Linked DNA regions of Homo sapiens: regions 1, 2 and 4 are each linked to region 3. The links are contacts of gene promoters, found by promoter capture Hi-C in blood cells and fetal thymus (Javierre and others, 2016). All regions are on one chromosome and are shown on one strand. Each heading gives the region's core, a stretch centred on a gene start or on the middle of the fragment in contact. The rest is flanking DNA. Distances are from core to core; before and after follow the strand shown. Region 1 overlaps ZDHHC21 (zDHHC palmitoyltransferase 21). Region 2 has its middle 7.0 kb from the start of ZDHHC21. Region 3 holds the start of PSIP1 (PC4 and SRSF1 interacting protein 1). Region 4 holds the start of LOC105375980 (a long non-coding RNA gene).

Region 1 (3,066 bases), core at 251-2,750, 840 kb after region 3:
CTGTGTAGATAGCTTACCATTTGTATTTGAGATTCCTTTATTAAAATGATTCTTAGCAAATTAAATAGCATGCTTTATCCTGTCTGACTTTCTTCATTTTAATGATACCAATCTGTCTTTTGATTTTTAAATTAAAAGATAAATAAATGAAACTTTTATTAGTTTAGTGGCCTGGGCACTATTTCTGTTTTAGAATTCATACACAAGTTAGAACATACCGGATTTAAACTATTAAGTGGTATTACATTTGAGTTCTTTTTTTGTTTTGTTTTTTGTTTTTTTTCTGCTGCCCCAATATTTGCAGGAACTAGGGATGAGAAACTGGGGGTATTCCTTTAAAATCAAGTATTCCTTAATCTCTTTTTCTTTGTTTCAGTAGCTTTATAGCTTTGAAGAACATGGGCAAGGCCTCTAAGGGATGGTGCCCTGAGGCTTTTCAATTGATTATGAATTGTTCTTAGAATGAAGTAGACTGGGATATAGGCTGAAAATCTGGGAATCACCCTTGACACTTTCCCCTGTAACCCCTAATATCTAATCAACCAGAAAAACACACTGGTTCGATTCTAGCAGTTGCTCCTTTCTGCAAACCTAATTTTGGCTTTTGCCTTCTCTTAGCCTAATGGACCTCTGTCTTTAATTTTATCATTCACACCAGAGCTTCAGTAATTTATTCACGGTACACATTTCGTCATGTTAATCCCCTGCTTCAATAGCTTTCCATTGCCGAAGAATTCAGTCTTAGCATTCTAACATGGCATCTTTATGTCCTTCATGATATAGGCCCATATTTCTTAGCACTCACTCTCCACAGAAAGCTTTATGATTTGTGATGGCAGGTTGTAATACCTCCCACAATTTCTACTCTTGCTCCTCCTATTCCTTCTGTTTGCAGTATTCTTGTCACTTTTCATTGCTTAGATAACTTTTACTAACCTTCTAAGACTGAATTCAGGTTTCACTTCTTACAGTAAGTCTTACTTGATTCCTCGTTTAACTGGTCCCATCTTCTGTGCCCCTACTAACATTTTGTTTTCAAATCTGGAACTTACCATATTATATTAAATCTTTTTTCTGATTCTTTTTCCCATTAGACTGTTCCTTTAAGCAAAGACCATGTCTTCTTCATCATTGTATCTGCAGTGTCTAGCAAGTGATAGGTGTGTAGTGGAGGCTCAGTGAATATTTGTTGAACTAAGTGAGTTCAACTCATTGTGGTAACATTGAAGTGTTAGTGAAGCTCATGGGTCAGTGCTTCCTAGACACCAGTCAGCTGTTTTCAGACTCTTGCAGAGCATTTTACAACATTTTATTGTTTTTTGAGTTTTATGAAGAATTATGATTCAGTAGATGTAGAATGGGGTCTGGGAATATGTATTTTTAAAAAGCTCCCCAGGTGTTTTTGGTTTTCTTACAGGCTAGAGAACCGTTGTCCTAGTTTATTATTATACCATTGTATTTTACGTAAAAGGTACCCCCTAGACTTTATACAGCAATTTATTATTTCATCCTTGGAAGTTATATCTACCAAAGTATGGATGTATTTTTAGTCACTTTTTTGGTACCATATTTATATAGAAGTATTTTAAGTCCTTAAGTGTCTCATTGAGAGATCTGTTGGCATATTGTTAACACTCAACTAAAAAAAGCCTCATTTAAACAGGAGTCTTCTTCAGTTGATCATAATGAGATTTGTTGGGCTTCATTCTATGAATTTTAGTATTTTTGGCAATTTGTAATTAGTTTTCACTTTTTATTGTCATTTTTCAAAATACTTAAAAAATGTTTTATTGTAGTTTAAAATTAAACTAGAGTGCACAAATCTGAAGTATACAGCTCAGTGAATGTTTACATATGTAGATACACATAAAGTACCACCCAGGTCAAGATATGGAACGTTTCCCAACCCCTCGTTCTCTCATGTTCCTTTTCAGTTAATATACACCCCTGCAACCACAAGGTAACCACTGTTTTGACTTGTGTGACCCATCAGTCTTCTGATTAAAGCTACTAAAAATTTTTGTACATAATCTTTTGGTGGACACGTGTATTCATTTCTTTTGGGTTTACACAGGAAGTTGCTGGGTTAAGGACAAACTTGTGTTTTAAATTCAGTAGATGATTCCAGTTTATACCTGTGATAGCAGTTCATAGTGAAACATTGAAATTATTTGAAGCTTATGATAAAATTTGAATATCCTGAAACTTCTGTTTGTTTTCCCAAGTATTTATTGTAAAAATATATATACAAAGAAATATCAATAAATATATCAACTACAGAAAGAAAATGTCAAATATGCAAAGAAAACTCAATGTCATTTTATAAAAGTTGCCAGAAATACAGGTTTTAGTCAAATTTTTCTATGTAAGTAATTATTTTCTTTGTTCCTTCTCCTTAGGATCATCCTTCCTTGTGGGTTAGCAGGCAGTTATAAGATTGCAAAATGGGTCTCCGGATTCACTTTGTTGTTGACCCACATGGTTGGTGCTGCATGGGTTTGATTGTCTTTGTTTGGTTATACAATATTGTTTTAATTCCCAAAATTGTCCTCTTTCCTCACTATGAAGAAGGACATATTCCAGGCATATTAATAATAAGTAAGTTTCTTGATCTTTATTTTCTTGTATAATTATTTTTCTCATTGTAAACGTTTTTGGGGTGTAGTGCCACTATGATAACTTTCCTTTTAATATATTTAGTATTTTAGCAGTGCTGTCAATATTCAGTTATTTACTAATTTATGAACTTATGGAAATAATGGCCTTTATAGATTTGCAGTTAGATAAAAGTGATATCTCCATTTTTAACTGCAAAGTGCATGAAGACCATTTTGTTAAAAATAGAAAACTGACACAGTAGTGATAACTTGCATGTCTCTCTGTATTTTTATTATTGCTGTTTTGTACCTAATTACAAATGTAGATGTTTTAAGAATAGAGACAGTATACATTACTGAGAAGTGAGAATTTCATAAGAAAAGTATTGATTACGAAGTTGATTATGATAACACTTGGAACTTCTGGATAGTTATTAGTCAATTGGTGATGGCTTGCTTATGATTAAAA
Region 2 (3,088 bases), core at 509-3,008, 810 kb after region 3:
AGGTAGTTAATAAATCCCACATGTGGTCAGTGTCTTCTAAGTAGTTGGTCAATCTTTTACCATTGATTCCACTGAATTCTTTGATAGTGTTTGCTTGCCTCAGGCCATTCATCACCACACTTTGAGCCCGTATTGCCTATGGGATTTTCTCACGCATCTCTATTTGCTGTTGCATCCATGTGAACCATGTTTTTTATCACCTAAGGCTGAGGCTTCCCACGATGTGTCAAAAGGTGAAATTCCAGGTGGCCTAAATTTTCCCATTTATTAGGTGTAGGTACAATGAACTCAAAGCAGGTATGTTGAATTATTATAGTATATTTGTAAACCAACAAAAGTTAATTCTATAAAGTGTTTTGGAGCCATAAGATATAACAGAAAGTATTTCTTTTGTTACTTTTGGTACCAGGATTTTCCTTGAAGGACTTGGAGATTCATTTCTGTATTCAACATTCTCTTCACCTGAGCAAAGTGAAGAAGTACTGTCTCCTTCTGCCTTTTCATCTCCTTTCCCAGAGCTCAGCACTCTCCTCTTTCCTTTGACTTTCTGAGAGCTCAGCACTTCCCATTCTGTGTCCACATGTAGCTGAGGGTAGCCATTAGATTGAAGCTCTCAGCTTTCCTCTTCACTCTTTCAAAATCTCCCACTTGGGTACTCTCTGGCTCTTCTTTTGCTTCTGACTTTGAAGATTAAGTAGCTATTCTCCTAGCAAAGAGAATCCTCTTATCTGGACTCTTGATTCTACTGGTGCTCTTGCCCCATACTTTAACTCTTAATTCTAACTTGTCTTTCTTCTCTTTTTATGATCTTATCTTAGAGATAACTCATGCTTCCTCATCCTAAAACACAAACAGGAGACAATCCATTAACTCATTTCAAAACCAGCTATGCCTACTGTCTCTATTTCTAAATAATCTCTCTTCTCAGTTTAATTACCTAGTTATTAAAAATCTACTCTTGAGTTTTCCAGGAAAATCCTGCTCACTAAATCTAATGGTCTTTTCTCATGCCTTATGTTCAACCTTTCTTCAGACTTTCAGATCCCTGCCTGTCCTCCACCAATTTCCTCCCCTCCCTGGACTTTTGCAAACCCTTTGGTATCAAAGACCAGATATAGATCCCTCCTCCAAGGGCCTGCCAATCACTCTCATTCTTCCTTTGTACTTTTTAGTTTCATTGTATATTAATTCAACCAAACTACTGGACACCTATAATGGATATAGAGTTGTGGGAAGCAACGGAAAGACAAACACAAATAAGACTGGATATGTTCTTTCCTGGAGCTCACTGTCTTCTGGGGAATATTTATAAGCAAACAGATCATTACAGCATGGTAAGATCTGTGATAGATGAGTCAAGAGAATCCTGTGGAAGCCCAATAGAAGGTGCCTAAGTTAGTCTGGTTGTTCAGCAGTAAGAGACTACCAGAGATCTGAAAGAGGAGTGCAGAGTTAGCAGCTGAGAAGGCAGGGAAAATGATGGGCCAGCAAGCAGTTTAGTGCTACTGTAACATACACTGGAAGGAAAAGCAGAGGAAGGAGTTGAGAGATGGCAGCAGAGATGAGACTGAAGAGGTCAGATTGTTAAGGAACTTTTATGCCACGCTAAGCTTTCATTTTACAATAAAGACATGGGTAGAGTGATGAGAGTGGTTAGGTTTGCTTTTATGAAAGAGTTCATGAGTGATATTGTGCAAAACAGATGGGTTGGGGGCAAGATTAGGGATAGGATGACTACTGCTGTAGTACAGGTGAAAAATAATGACAACCTGAACTCAGTGCTGTAGGAATGCAAAGAAATGAATGGCTTCGAAGGATCTTGTGGAAGTGAAATTGATCGAGTTTGGTGACTGGGTGTGAATGGATTGAGAGGGAGGAGACAGAACTTCTTAGTTTTCAAGCTTAGACAACAGATGTTTCTGAAATTGCAATACTAGGGGGAGAAATAGAGCTGGGGTGGTAATGAAAGATTTGTTTTTGAACACGTTGAGTCTGAAGGTTTGTGGAAACATTCTTCTGGGACCTGCCATAACTGGGATTTTCTCTTTGCTTTGGAATAGGGCTCTTTTGATTTTTAAAATGCCAATGAGGTAAAAATTTGTGGGACAGCAAGAGATAAAAGCCAGTGAAAGGCCTTTGTATACTCTTATTTCTTATCCAAAGCAATGTGCAAATCATATTTAGATGTTACCCACCACTGGCTTCAGCCTTCCACCTGAAGGTAATTGTCATAATAGTTACTGAGTCATTTCTCATGCCAGATTCAGGTTTAAGTGCTTGACATATATTGATTCCTTTGATCTTCATACAATCTAATATGATGACTATTATTATCCATTTTTTACAGATGAGGAAACGAAGGCATCAGTAATTAAGTAACACATACTTAGTAGTGTTAGAATCAGGGAACAAAACCAGGCAATCTCCCTCCACTATATCCTCCTCCATTCTGAGGCGAAGAGTTTCCAATCATTCACAAAGCAGGAATTCACAAACTCTGATTCATGGGGACCAAATATGGGCTGCTGCTCGTTTTTGTAAATAAAATGTTATTGTTGCATGGCCATGTCCATTCATTTACATATTGTCTATGGCGACTTGGCAATCCAATGACAGAACTGAATAATTGCAACAAAGACTAGACCACAAAGCTAAAGCTGTATCTGGCCGGGCATGGTGGCTCATGCCTATAATCCCAGCATGTTGGGAGGCCGAGGCAGGTGGATCACCTGAGGTCAGGAGTTCAAGACCAGCCTGGCCAACATGGTGAAACCCTGTCTCTACAGAAAATACAAAAATTAGCCAGGCATGGTGGTGCACGCCTGCAGTCCCAGCTACTCGGGAAGCTGAGGCAGGAGAATCACTTGAACCTGGTAGATGGAGGTTGCAGTGAGCTGAGATCATGCCACTGCACTCCAGCCTGGGCAACAGAGACTCCATCTCAAAAACAAACAAACAAACAAACAAAACTATATCTGATCCTTTAAAGAATGCATGCAAAGTGCGCTAGACCCCCAATTTGTCATTTCTCCCTTCATGTATGGGAGTGAACAAGGATAGATGTATGACCTTTGTTCTTATAGCCAAA
Region 3 (3,255 bases), core at 263-2,762:
TTTTCCTATGCATAATTTATAGCCAACACCTGACAATCATTCCTTTGTGTAATTACTTAGTTGTGCTCTTCCTTCCCTTTTCTTAGTCACCATTCTCACTGAGAAATGCGTCATTTCATGAGTACTCCAGTTACCCCCAGCCTCTTTCTACTAACATCTACCTTGAAACATCAAGAACTGGTTAAATAATCATTTTTACCCCCTTCTTGCTGAGCAACCTATAGTAGCTTCCTACTACACACATTAAATTCATATTCAGAATGAGAAGCTTCAAGACATTTCACCAACCCTTCCTTCTCCTCTGCCAATTTCTCTTTTTGCTCCACTTGGAACTCTCTGCATATTGCCCAGGTATACTTAGTTTCTCGAAACTCCTTACAGGACATTTTACTTTGGGACTGTCTTCTTTCATTCCTTTTTAAAGACATGCTGTATCGCTTTCAAAAAATTCTCAATTTTTACCAATTCAAAAAAAATTTCCTAATTCATTTCCAGTTGAGTCCCGTATTTAAAACAGTATTATCTAGGTGCTAATATATGTCTTATTATTCTTATTTTTATATGTCTTAACATTCTTTTTAAAAATATTTTCAGCCTCTCTAAAGGATCAAAAAATTAACCTTTAAAATCCCTTGAAGAGCATTTTAAGAGAGAAAATATTTGAGGTTTAGTAACACTTACACATTGTACCACCTACCAGCTCCTATTCTACTAGGGAAATAAAATTTAGATGCAGCTAAAATTTAGTTAGGGCCCAAACTCACATCCTATCTAAAAGGTTTCTGTTTTCCTGTCATTGTTTTCTACCCTTCGCATTTTGCATTCAGTAGGGTTGCATTTTTCTTAATAGTTCTTGGTGATGCAAATGCAAAAGAAATGAAATAGGGCTCTCTCATACTACAATTTCAAGGAAAAGGAGACTACGAGGCCCATTCAGCGAGGTGCAAGAGGCCTAGATGCAGCACACCCTGCAACCGCCGCATGCTCCAATTTCATCTTAGGGTTTTCGTACAGCTCCTCTTTTTTGGATGATGCAAACCGCGCAAAAGCAGCATTCAAACCTCCCCACCCTGGAAACGATACAAGAACATGAATCTTTACTGCCACTTTCTCCCTAACACGCAGCCAAGGGAGAGAGGCCCGGATACCCGCCCCCAAAACCGCGTCCACAACAATCATTTCCTCCCTCCCCGCCTTTTACATACAGTACACATACAAATACACACACGCAGAGAAGCCAGCAGGGGCGGGCCGGGCCCGACCACTCCGCAAACCGCAGGGGGAACTTGCGGCAGGCCGAGCTATTTTCGCCCAGTCCTTTCTTCTTCGCTTGCGTCTTCCTCTCCATCTGCATGCACCTGTTACATGAAAGCGAACTTGGGGACGTAGGGTTTCCAGAAAATCCGCTTCGGAGCCACACAGCTTCGCCGGGTGCTGCAACATCCCCCCTCTCTCGGTAAACAGTTGGTCGCGCCCCAGTGCTAGCGGGCGCCGAGCGGGAGCCGCGCGGGAGCAGCGCAGCTACGGCGGCGGCAGCGGCGGCGCGGTTGCGATTCCGAGCCGTTGAGACGCCTCTGCGGCAGCTGGTGGCGCAGGTGGCTTGCGTGGACGCGGGTAGAGGCGACCGGCCAGCAACCGCAGCGTCGGCGCCCGCGGCCCCGGCAGGTGAGCGGGCGACGGGGACTCGCCCCGCCCCCCCCTCGGTGGCGTCGCTCCTGGCTGTAGCGGGGAAGTGGACGCGGCCCGCCCGGGAGCCGAGGGGGCCGAGGCTGCAGCCGCTGGGCAGCAGGTTGCGGGGGAGGCCTTGCGTGGGCGGAAGGGGGCCGCTCGCTTCTCGGAATCCCTGCCTTTTTCTCTCCCATGCACCCCCTCCCTTTTGGGGCTTAAGCTCGGTGGAAAAAGCCCGGAGAAAGATGGGGCGGGCAGACGGGCGATTTCTGGCCGGGCAGCATCCCTGCTTCAGGTGGTGGCGTCTCTTCGGTGGCGGGGTGGAGGACCTGCTCCAGCGCGGAGGCAGCGCACTGGCGGGGGAGGAGCGGGAGGCGGCCGTCCCCTCGCTCTCCCACCCCCACCCGCCGGTTCCCCTCCCCCTCCCCTTGCGGCCCCTCCCTTCGGGGTTCTTCGCTTTAACCGCCCTCGGTGCTCTCCCTAGCAGGCGCGTCGGGACGCCCCGAGGCATCCTCCCCCGCCCGCGGGCCCGGTAGCTGGGCCCGCGTCCGCCGCCCGCATCCCCGCGCCGCCGCATCTCCTCGCCGCCTCCCGGGCTTCGGACCCCCGGTCTCGCCCCCGAAACATGACTCGCGATTTCAAACCTGGAGACCTCATCTTCGCCAAGATGAAAGGTTATCCCCATTGGCCAGCTCGAGTAAGTGATTTGTAGCCCTCGCGCTTAGCAGTGCTACCCTCCTCTCCAGAGGCCTGCTGCCCACCGTGTCTCTTTATTTTTTCTTCTGTCCTTTCTCTCCCTCGCTTTAGTCTCATTTGTAACCTGACCTTTCATTTTAGTTTTTTGCCCAATAATCTCCCGTGTAATTATGAAAATCCAGACGTTTCTACATACCTGTGTATTTCCCTATGGTTTATTGGCAGACTTGGACAGATTTTCTTCCTAGGAAATATTTAAATGCGTTGCTAGTTAATATTCCATTGTAGGTGAAATAATGAAGAGTGAATTTTTGTTTAAAAATTAGTGAAACATTGACATTTCCATAGTTTTGGATCAAGTACAAAATATCAATGGAATTTGTGCAGATTACACACAAACACTTGGATGTCAGAGAAGTGCGTATGTGATTAAATTGGATTTACAGGGTTTTAAAAAAAATACCTTGTACTTGATGAGGCCTTCTGGATTTGCTTGTTTAATACAGATTCAGGACTGGATATTCTTGAAAGTATTACAGTAGTTTAGTACCGAGGAAGGGCCAGAAAATTCATTTCTCCTTTTTTATTTGAGATGTTTATGACCTTGAAGAAGTTGTTTTACCTTTTTGTTTCCAATAGGCAAAAAGGAGGTGTGGACCAGATTCCTCAGTTCACATCTAGTGGTACAGAGAAATGATTAAGGACCCAGGATGTTTTGTGACATTGAGGAATTGAGACTGTTTAAAGATCTACGCTCCATTTTTAGAAAAAGGGTTCTTTTTGTTTATGGTGGTACCCAGGCTCTCAAACAGAGATAGATAGGACCTAAGATATGTTGCAATCAATTAGATTAGGTAAACTCAAGATCCTTTAAAAATATACTTACATGGG
Region 4 (3,266 bases), core at 363-2,862, 520 kb after region 3:
CACCAAAGCAGTTCTTCACTGAACCTTCAAAGAGAATTTTTTCAGCTCTGCCTTAACTCACATACTAGTTCAGCATCTCCATATCCCTAACAACTAGAATTTAGGACAGCTGTCCCCTTCAGAGGCTGCATTTCTCCTTTACCCTGGTATTCCTAGAATGCATGACCCAATATGAAGAATGCCTATACAACTGGCCCTTTACTAGTTAATTAAGCCCTCCAAGAATGTCTCACACCCTATCCGATTTATAACACTGCCAGACTAAGTTTTCTAAAACTTTAGTTATCACAATGGCACTTCCTTCCTGTCTGATTCCCCTTATTGCTACTGTAGTGGTTACAGAACTTCCGAAATCGTAGTAAAATATGAGATAATGCACATACTTTTCCCCCCTCCCCTCTCATAGTGCTTTTATGATCAGGTCCCTCTTACTTTCCCATTTCTCTGGCTCCAGCCAAGCCGAACGCTCCACTATGCCCAAACATCTCCTACACTTTTACGTCTCAGACTCTTCTCTGCCTTCAAAACCCATTTTCAAAGAGTTGTCTTAAAAGTCTTCTTTAACACCCCCTGGGACTTGTTAAATCCTCCTTCAGTGTTTCCATAGCACTTTCTACACACCAGCATTATAATCCCAAACAAAAAAGTCACAGTAGAATGCATATTCGCTTGTGCCCCTCCTCCCCAGGCCGGAGGCTCTACATGGAGAAGGGGCAGGCGGGTTGACCCCAAATCCGCAGGGCCCCGCACAATGTCTGGTATGTAATCGGTTCCCAATCTATCTGGGTGGGCGAATGAATGAAACGTTGGTTGGCTTAATCCGTTTCCCCAGGAAATGCGCCAAGAGGAGCTGGGCAGAAAATGCAGAGGCGCTACTTTCCTGGTCCAATCCCCTACAGAGCGCGAAACAGCGACCTGGGCAGGGTCCCCGCAGCAAACCGCAGACCCCGGACACACAGCAAGCTTAATAGTCACTGCATGAATGAAACGCGCTGCCTCCTGGTACCCTGGCTGTCATCCAAAGCCACCTGCGTAGCCCCCACAGCCTTTCTGGCAGTATCTGCGGCCCCGCCCCCGCGCCGGGCCTGCGCTTCCAGCCACCGCCCACCATTCTGCAGCTGCAGCGCCAGCCGAATTCCCGGATCCGCGGCCGCTTCCGAGAGCAGCCAACTGCTTCCGGGTTCAAAAGCCTCCAATGCGAATCCCAGCGCCGCTCGGGCGCGCCAATTTAGGGAAAAGGCTCCGCCCATGCCCCGCCCCCTGAGACCTGGCGCCGGGCGCTTTGAGGCCCGGCTTACTCCCTTGCTGGGTATGGGGAAGGGGCGTCTTCTGTCCTTGTGGTCCGCTTCTAGGCTTTTTGGAGCATCTTCCAGGGTCACTCCAGAGACCCCCCCAGACTACTGAATCTGAATCCGTTAGGGTGGTCCAACCTTCCTCTTCAGGTGTCTACTAGAGGCAAGGTTGGATGTATGCGGCTGCCCTCAGTACAGCCCCTTCCTTGTTTTTTCTTCATTTGTGTTTACTTAAAACATTAATCCTTTTCTCCCTCTCCTCCATCCCTCTCCCTCCCCTACTATACAGTTATTGACTTACACTAATTCATTCCCGATGATCTCCCAGAAGGAAATAAGTGTCTGTCTGTCTCTGTCTCTGTACCATCGTCTTCTTGGTACAGTTCGGACTATTTTTTCTCTACACCCCAGTTATGCAAAGTGTAGTCCCTGAACCAGCAGCCTCAGCATCCTGAGGGAATTTGTTAAAAACGCGAAATCTCAAGCCCTACCCAGACTTACTGAATCAGTGTCTGCATTGCAACAAGATCCCCTGGTAATTCCTATGCACATCAAAATTTGGAAGGCACAGCTCTCAACTGATGTCCTGGGTCTCCTTCACATCCATCCTGGGAAGGTCTTATTCCTCATTCCTGAGGTGAGTTCCCTATTTCCTGAGTCTGTGTCTTTTTCTTGATTATATAGCCTCATGTTGTGGAACATATCCGCCAATAGTTCCTTGAGGGAGGTTGCTTCCAGGTCTTTTTTCCCACAGAGCGTGCAGGTCTGGAACTGTTTTTATTCTGGCTGAGTTCTAGGTTGAAAATAACTTTCACTCGGAATATTGGAGGGCTTGCTCCACAATATTTTAGCTTCCAAAATTGTTGAGAAACTCTACGTCATTGCATTTCCTTCTCCTTCTCAGGTCACTAAATTTCTTGTTATGTAACCCGCTTTGGTTTCGGTTTTGTTTTGTCTCAAGAAGCTTTAGGATCTTCTCTTTATACCCAGCGTTCTAAGACACAATCGAGTGTCTTTCTTATGGGTCTTTTCTCATTCCTATTGATCAGTTTTTCAATCCTGAAACACATGTTCTTCCGTTATGGGGATTCTCCTGGTATTATTTATTTGATCGTTTCTTTCCGCCCTCTCTTATTTTATCTCTTATTTTTTGAAATTTGTTATTTAGATCGTGGACCTTCTTGGCTGATGTTTTTTCTTACCTGTCTGTCCTATTTTCTATCCCTTCATCTTTTTATTCTACTTTCTCTGTGACTTTTTCAACTTAATTGGACAAATGATTATCAGATTACTTTATTTCTTTTATTATACCTTCATTTCTAAGTGCCCTTTTTATTCTCTGTTCTTTTATAGCATTACATTATTGTTTCATGAATATACCTCCTTTACTCTCTGAAGATGTAAATTATAGGAGTTTTAAAATACTTTCTACATAACTCTGCATTGATTTTGATTCTTTGAGTTTTTTTTGGTTGTTTGTTTGTTTATATTTGGTCCCTGTCGTTTCTGCTAGAGGCGTTCTTCATCTTGTGTAGTGATCCCTGCTGTCAATTTATATGTAAAAGTGATGCTCTAAAAAGGTGCTTTGGGGACATAGGCAAGGCTTGTTCACTGCTGGACAAGGTGTAAGATGGTGGGGCAAGGTGTAAGATGGTGGGGCAAGGTGTAAGATGGTGGGACAAGGTGTAAGATGGTGGGGCAAGGACCAGCTGTTTATTTTCTTCTAGAGAGTAATCTTCTAATTACTTGCTTTGAGAATATATAGCCTTCTTGGAGCCCAATGCGGGAAAGAGTTTGGGAGACTTAGTAATTTCATTATATGCACTGATGCCCTGTGTTAGTTGGGGTTCTCCAGAGAAACAGAGAATGAATAGATATCTATATCTATACCTATATCTCTATCTATCTATTAGCTCATGTGATTATGGGGGTTGAGAAGCCCCACAATCTGCTGTCTGTAAGCTGAAGACCCAG

Evidence for each region. Contacts are between HindIII fragments. The CHiCAGO score rates a contact against its expected background, and 5 or more counts as called.
Region 1: a fragment that was not itself captured here is called in contact with the fragment with the promoter of PSIP1 in region 3 in 1 of 17 cell types (total B cells); the score reaches 5.9 in total B cells.
Region 2: a contact is called between a fragment that was not itself captured here and the fragment with the promoter of PSIP1 in region 3, in 1 of 17 cell types (naive B cells). The highest score is 7.2, in naive B cells.
Region 4: a contact is called between a fragment that was not itself captured here and the fragment with the promoter of PSIP1 in region 3, in 6 of 17 cell types (activated CD4 T cells, naive CD4 T cells, non-activated CD4 T cells and 3 more). The highest score is 13.8, in activated CD4 T cells.

What each region holds. Positions count from the first base shown.
Region 1 is chr9:14,673,719-14,676,784 of GRCh38, reverse strand. ZDHHC21 (zDHHC palmitoyltransferase 21) reads left to right here. Exons shown (of 10, transcript NM_178566.6): 4 at 2,400-2,598. The coding sequence starts at 2,445. Among named protein-coding and RNA genes, the nearest start is that of ZDHHC21, 18 kb to the left of the region's middle. The HindIII fragment of the contact is 1,359 bases long and covers 821-2,179 here.
Region 2 is chr9:14,698,918-14,702,005 of GRCh38, reverse strand. No RefSeq gene overlaps it. Among named protein-coding and RNA genes, the nearest start is that of ZDHHC21, 7.0 kb to the right of the region's middle. The HindIII fragment of the contact is 291 bases long and covers 1,613-1,903 here.
Region 3 is chr9:15,509,227-15,512,481 of GRCh38, reverse strand. PSIP1 (PC4 and SRSF1 interacting protein 1) reads left to right here and starts at 1,512. Exons shown (of 16, transcript NM_033222.5): 1 at 1,512-1,665; 2 at 2,153-2,365. The coding sequence starts at 2,294. RefSeq lists enhancers at 493-1,445, 1,446-2,399 and silencers at 1,527-1,606, 1,627-1,836, 1,847-1,906, 2,037-2,086, 2,187-2,386. The HindIII fragment of the contact is 3,241 bases long and covers 271-3,255 here.
Region 4 is chr9:14,991,192-14,994,457 of GRCh38, reverse strand. It overlaps LOC105375980 (a long non-coding RNA gene), which reads left to right and starts at 1,263. Exons shown (of 5, transcript XR_929491.3): 1 at 1,263-1,309; 2 at 1,704-1,929. It also overlaps the pseudogene LOC389705. The HindIII fragment of the contact is 1,293 bases long and covers 966-2,258 here.